2 separate regions of the Homo sapiens genome follow, and region 2 is linked to region 1. Evidence: promoter capture Hi-C in human tissues and cell types (Jung and others, 2019). All regions are on one chromosome and are shown on one strand. The core of a region is centred on a gene start or on the middle of the fragment in contact, and the rest is flanking DNA. Distances in the headings are between cores, read along the strand shown. Region 1 holds the start of PLEKHH1 (pleckstrin homology, MyTH4 and FERM domain containing H1). Region 2 holds the start of TMEM229B (transmembrane protein 229B).

Region 1 (2,764 bases), core at 194-2,693:
AGAAGAGGCTCCACATTTTTTCAGCTTAGTTGTTAGTTTCAATGAGTTTGGGGCCACAGGCTGCACCCCACAATTGCCCAACTCTGAGCAGGCCCCCTCAGCAGTCTATGGGAAGGTGGTAGAAGTGGACTGAACCATACGTTAGGAATTTAGGAGGCTTGGGTTTCAGTTATGGCTCTTCCACTTTTTAGCTATGTGACCATGGGCATATCACAACAATTTTTTTTTTAACAGACAGGATCATCAGCCTCCCAAGTTAGCTGGGACTACAGGCCCACACCACCACACCCAGCTAATTTTTAAATTTTTATTTATTTGTAGACACAGGGTCTCCCTATGTTGCCCAGGCTGGTCTTGAACTCCTGGCATCAAGCTCTCCTCCTGCCTTGGCTTCCCAAAGTGCTGGGATTACAGGCATAAGCCACTGCAACTGGCCTAAATCACAACTTTTCAGAGTCCCAGCTTCCTCCTTTGGAAAAATGGGGCCAATAATATGCAGAAACACTAATACCGATGTTCTATAAAGCGTTCAGTGATGGTACTAGCCCTATACACAGTGTCTGTCACATAGAAGACAGTCCAAACAGTTTGATGAAGGAACTGATAATTCTCCCACTGAATTTTTTAAATGGTCTTTCAAGTGTTTTACCTGAACCAAGGCTCTGTCTTGGAAGAGTTTTATGAGGTGGATTCATAGTAAAAGCTATGGAGGAGATATCCTGGCAAGCAGAAATCCCACAAGGAGAGGAGTTTCCTTCCAGATGAGGCTCTTCACCGCCTCTGCCACCCCCACTAAGGCCCCTGGTTCCTGGTGACCGAGTCCTCGCTAAGACTCCTAGGACACAATGCTCTGTGTCATTCGGCGCCCAACCTGTTTTCTTTTCTGCTTGAATGACCTGCTCCTAGGAGTCGAGCCTGAGCCATAGGGTCCCAAAGACAACACTCAGAAATCACAGAAGAAATAACCTGAGGTGAGATGGGGAGGGGTGCGGGAAGGGGTGAAAGGGAGCGAGCACCGATAGCAAGGTGGCAGCCTGCACGTCCGCTCCGAGGGCCCTTCCCAGGAGCGGCTGGATCTGACCGATCCCCAAGTCCAGGTACTCCCGGGGGAGGCTCCTCCTGGCCTCGCGGCGCGAGTCCCCTGGGGCGCCCGGCTTCCCAAGCCAGACCCGCGCTCCAGCGCTCCCCGCCGCTGGGAGCTCGCTTCCAGGTAGGGAGGCACCTGCTCCGGATCGTCCTCTGGGCCCGAGGGGCCGTCCCCCGCGCGCAGCCTGACGCCCTCCGCCGCGGCGCAGCCCCAGCCCACCACAGCGGCGGGAGCGCGGGTCGCTCACCTCCAGCGAGCTCGCGGCCGTCCCCGCCGCGCACTGGGCACACGGGCGCCCTCGGGCCGCCGCCGCAGCCGACCTTGCGTCGCTCTCGCCGGAGTCCCGGGCTGCCGCCGGTTCTCCCCTCCCCGGCAGCAGGGGTCGTGGGCTGCGGGGCGGGGCGAGGCTGGAGCGGGAGGGGTGCCCGCGGGCTCGCTGCACAAAGCCCGGCCGAGCCTTGCTGCGCCCCATTCAACGCTCCGCCGGGCGCCCTCCTCCCCTCGGCTCCCCGCCCGCTCCTTAAAGGCAGAGCGCTGGGCTCAGCTCTCCAGGCAGCTCGCGGAGAGGCACAGGAAATGACCTCAGCAGGCTCCAGCCTCCCACTTCTCCGCACCGCTGGGCTCGTCCCTGGGGCGGCAGGGAGGGCGGCGGGGTGTCCCGGGCGCCGGCCCGGAGCTCTCCGAGGAGGCCGCACCAGCTGCCGCAAGGGGTGGCCAGAGCGCCCCGGGGATCTGCTTGACCCCAAATAGCGGGGGACCCTCGCGGGCTGCGGGACAAGACCAGACCGTCTCCGCCAAAGGTTCCAGCATTCTCCTGGCCACCTGTGGGAACTGTAACGTCTGGATATTTGGAACAGAAGTCCATATTTCAGTCTGGCAGACCAAATGTTCTGAGTTGCAATTTGCAGGAGAAAAAGAAAAAATAAGTTACGACAGCCCAGAGAGTAACTTACTTGCTTATTTTCTGGTCTCGCTATGTTGCCCAGGCTGGACTCGAACTCCGGAGCTCAAGTGATCTTCCCGCCTGGGCCTCCAGGCCGGCTTATGTATATGTTATTTTAAAGGAGGGCCCAGGAGGACCCTGGCTGCCAGGCAGTTTGCAGGGCAGTCATCAGCGTGCCCATGTGCTCCTCGTTCTCAGACATTTGCAGATCTCAGATCGCCCAAAGCAATCTCATACCCAGAGGGGTTGGAAAACTCAACATTTGGCTAGGTGAGCCTGGAGTAAAGAAGATGCAAATAGAGACCATTGCAGGGAGGGATCCACACTTCAAAACAGAGCCTTCTTCCTCAACCCTGCAGGCTCTCTGTCAGTGAAGGACTGAACAGAAGCAAAATACCATCAGCGCCTGTTTCTCCAAATGGTCCTTGGAAGACTCATCCCAGGCACCATGAAGAACACCCCCACCCTGGGTTTGAATCTGAATCTCTAACTAAAGTACCCCAGGCCATTCTCACGTAGAAGTTTTGAGAGCCCAGACACTAAGGAAAGCTGGTAGTGCAGGAGGCCAAACGTGAGAATTTAACTGGGCCAATGGGACTTCAATGGCTGAACTTGCAAACAGCTTTATAGCTCGTGGGGATTGGGATAGATTAGCCCCATTTTGTGGGACAATGCTCAGGCTATCCACTTCAACATTCCAGAAGTTGCATAAGGAAGCCCAAAAACACGTTCTC
Region 2 (2,764 bases), core at 131-2,630, 46 kb after region 1:
CTCCCAGAGCTGGCTGCAGTAACCCGCAGGCTGTGCCGGCAGGATGTGGTCTTTGGTTTCTGTTTCTGTTTTAGTTCTGACTTGTGCCGTGGATGTGGCTGAGGGCCTAGGGTGGGGAGAAGTCTCCACAGGTGGGATTGAACTCCCCAGGCACATGGTCCTTGTGGTGCTGGTGGAGAGAGAGTCCCAGAGGGTTCGGACATGCTCCGTTAAAACCTTTTCCTCAAGGTGATAGGTACGTGTCAAGGTGACCCCTGTCCGCCATCCGGCAGGCTGGAAGAAGCCGGTAAGATGGACAGATCAGGGAGGGTTGGAGGGTCCCGTTTGTGAAGGAGCTGGGGAGGGGGAGGCAAGGCTGAGCACAGCAGCCCACTGTGATGCTCTCAGTGCAGAGGCCCCGGGGGGAGACCCAGGGGGGCACCCCCCAAAACCACACCATACAGTGAGTTTCAGTTCCCCCACTCCTGCCCTTTCACTTCTCCTCGGCTGCCTGGCTGCCTCACAGGTTGTCAGCTTGAGCAAGGGCCCAAGCGGCCTCTACTCAGAGACCCTGGTGGTCAGAGGGGAGTGGGGAAGGTGGACATGGGCATCAGCACAGACCAGCACCTCTGGTCCATCCTGCCTGGTCATCCACAGGGGAGTGCCAGCTCCCACCCCCAGCCACATACTGTTCTCAGCTTCTGAGTGGCTGGGCTGTCCCAGAGGGCCATGCTGGGCCTGAGTGCTGTCCTTGGGCATATGCAGATGGTGTTGTATCCAGGGGGTTTTCAGGGAAGCTTTAGCACTTTCATATTAAAACAAAAAATGTTGGAATCTCCATTAAATAGTCAAGTCTTAGGGATAGTAGTAAAAACATGGCTGTACATGGCTGGCCAGGCACAGTGGCTCACGCCTATAATCCTAGCACTTTGGGAGGCTGAGGTGGGAGGGTTGGCCAAGAGCTTGAGACCAGCCTGGTCAACATAGCAAGACCCGTCTCTACTTGATTTTTTTTTTTAAAGTACATGGCAAAGGGCATTATAAAGTAAGATTTGTATTAGCTTGTAGCTGGTTACTGATGTTCATAGGAAGGGCCTCAACCATAATAATGGTGAAATAATAAAATGAGATGAATAAATATTAGAGAGGTAGAATAGTACGTAGAAAGGTTTAGCACACATTTTGTTTTTCTGCACGAGTGGTTGTTCTCTGCTTTCAAAGTGCTGAAACGAATGTCCTACATTGTCTGCCTTCCATGAGGTTCTGACCGCCCTTGAGAACAGATGTACCCACTACAGGGTGAAGGTGAGAATGTAATTTGAAGCTGAATGAGAATGGAGCTGGATTCTAAAATTATATCCCCTCTCAGATTCACAAGTGTTCACACATTTAGGCAAGAAGCCCTAAGTCCTAACCCTGGACATGTGGATTGTCCAGGACCATCCCAGACTTTTGTGGCTGGATTAATCAGACCTGAGCAAACTGGATGCAAAGAGGAGGGGGTAGGTTCCGGGAAGGGGCCCTGGTGGCCAGGGTGGGATGAGTGTCTGGTGCTGAGCCCAGAGCCCAGGCCCTTGCAATGTTTTTCTTGGATCTGCTGGGGGCAGTTTAAGCTAATAAAAGCCTCCTCTTTTATTCCCAGGGACACATGGAAGCTGCCAGCCCCCCAGCCAAGGATCAGCTGAGCCCTAGGGCTGATGCTTGCCTACGTTGCTGAGAATGGCACTGAGGCCCAGCCAACAAAGGTTAACCCAGGACACTCCTGGACAGTGATCCTGATGTCTGTTGTGAGCTGCACACTCAAGGGTGTGATAAGTGAGTATGTTACAAGCACCCAGGGGATCACCAGCCCAGCGATCCTGCCTGCTCGGCACCTCATCAGCATGGGCACGAGTCTGGAGGTTCTAGTTCTGAGTCTGTTCCCCATCCAAGGTCCTGTCACAGGGCAATGGGAGGGGAATGTCAAGCAATATTGGGCCATCACATGCGGGAGCCGTCTTATGGCCACATGGCCTCTAAAATCCAGGCCAGACCCAGTGTATTAGTTTGTTTTCGTGCTGCTGATAAAGACATACGTAAGAGTGGAAAATGTATACAGAAAAAGAGGGTTAATTCCACGTGTCTGGGGAAGCCTCACAATCATGGTGGAAGGCAAGGGGAAGCAAGTCACATATTACAAGGTTGGTAGCAAGCAGAAAGAGAGCTTGTGCAGGGAAACTCTCCCTTATAAAACCATCAGATCAGCCGGGCACTGTGGCTCACGCCTGTAATCCCAGCACTTTGGGAGGCCGAGGTGGGTGGATCGCAAGGTCAACAGATTGAGACCATCCTGGCCAACATGGTGAAACCCCATCTGTACTAAAAATACAAAAATTAGCTGGGCATTGTGGCATGCACCTGTGGTCCCAGCTATTCAGGAGGCTGAGGCAGGAGAATCGCTTGAACCTGGGAGGCAGAGGTTGCAGTGAGCCAAGATCGTGCCATTGCACCCCAGCCTGGCAACAGAGCAAGACTCTGTCTCAAAACAAAACAAAACAAAAACCCATCAGATCTCATGAGATTTATTCACTATCACAAGAACAGCATGAGAAAGACCTGGCCCCATGATTCAATTACCTCCCACCCAGTTCCTCCCACAACATGGTGGAAATTCAAGATGAGATTTGGGTGAGGACACAGCCAAACCATATCATTCAGATTGTCTGGCGTGAGTGAAGCGAGCACTCACACCTGGGAAACAGCATCTACTTTGGCCGTCAGGCTTCAGATCTGTGCAGTGAGGACC

What was found. Contacts are between HindIII fragments. The study calls those that stand out against the background at their distance.
Region 2: a contact is called between a fragment that was not itself captured here and the fragment with the promoter of PLEKHH1 in region 1, in 1 of the 25 tissues and cell types used here (spleen).

What each region holds. Positions count from the first base shown.
Region 1 is chr14:67,531,969-67,534,732 of GRCh38, reverse strand. PLEKHH1 (pleckstrin homology, MyTH4 and FERM domain containing H1) reads right to left here and starts at 1,443. Exons shown (of 29, transcript NM_020715.3): 1 at 1,335-1,443. It also overlaps a transcript of GPHN not described here and a transcript of TMEM229B not described here. RefSeq lists a silencer at 1,350-1,819. The HindIII fragment of the contact is 40,466 bases long and covers 1-2,764 here.
Region 2 is chr14:67,486,030-67,488,793 of GRCh38, reverse strand. TMEM229B (transmembrane protein 229B) reads left to right here and starts at 73. Exons shown (of 3, transcript NM_001348543.2): 1 at 73-286; 2 at 1,622-1,794. It also overlaps a transcript of GPHN not described here. RefSeq lists enhancers at 1-361, 1-498, 662-731. The HindIII fragment of the contact is 6,771 bases long and covers 1-2,764 here.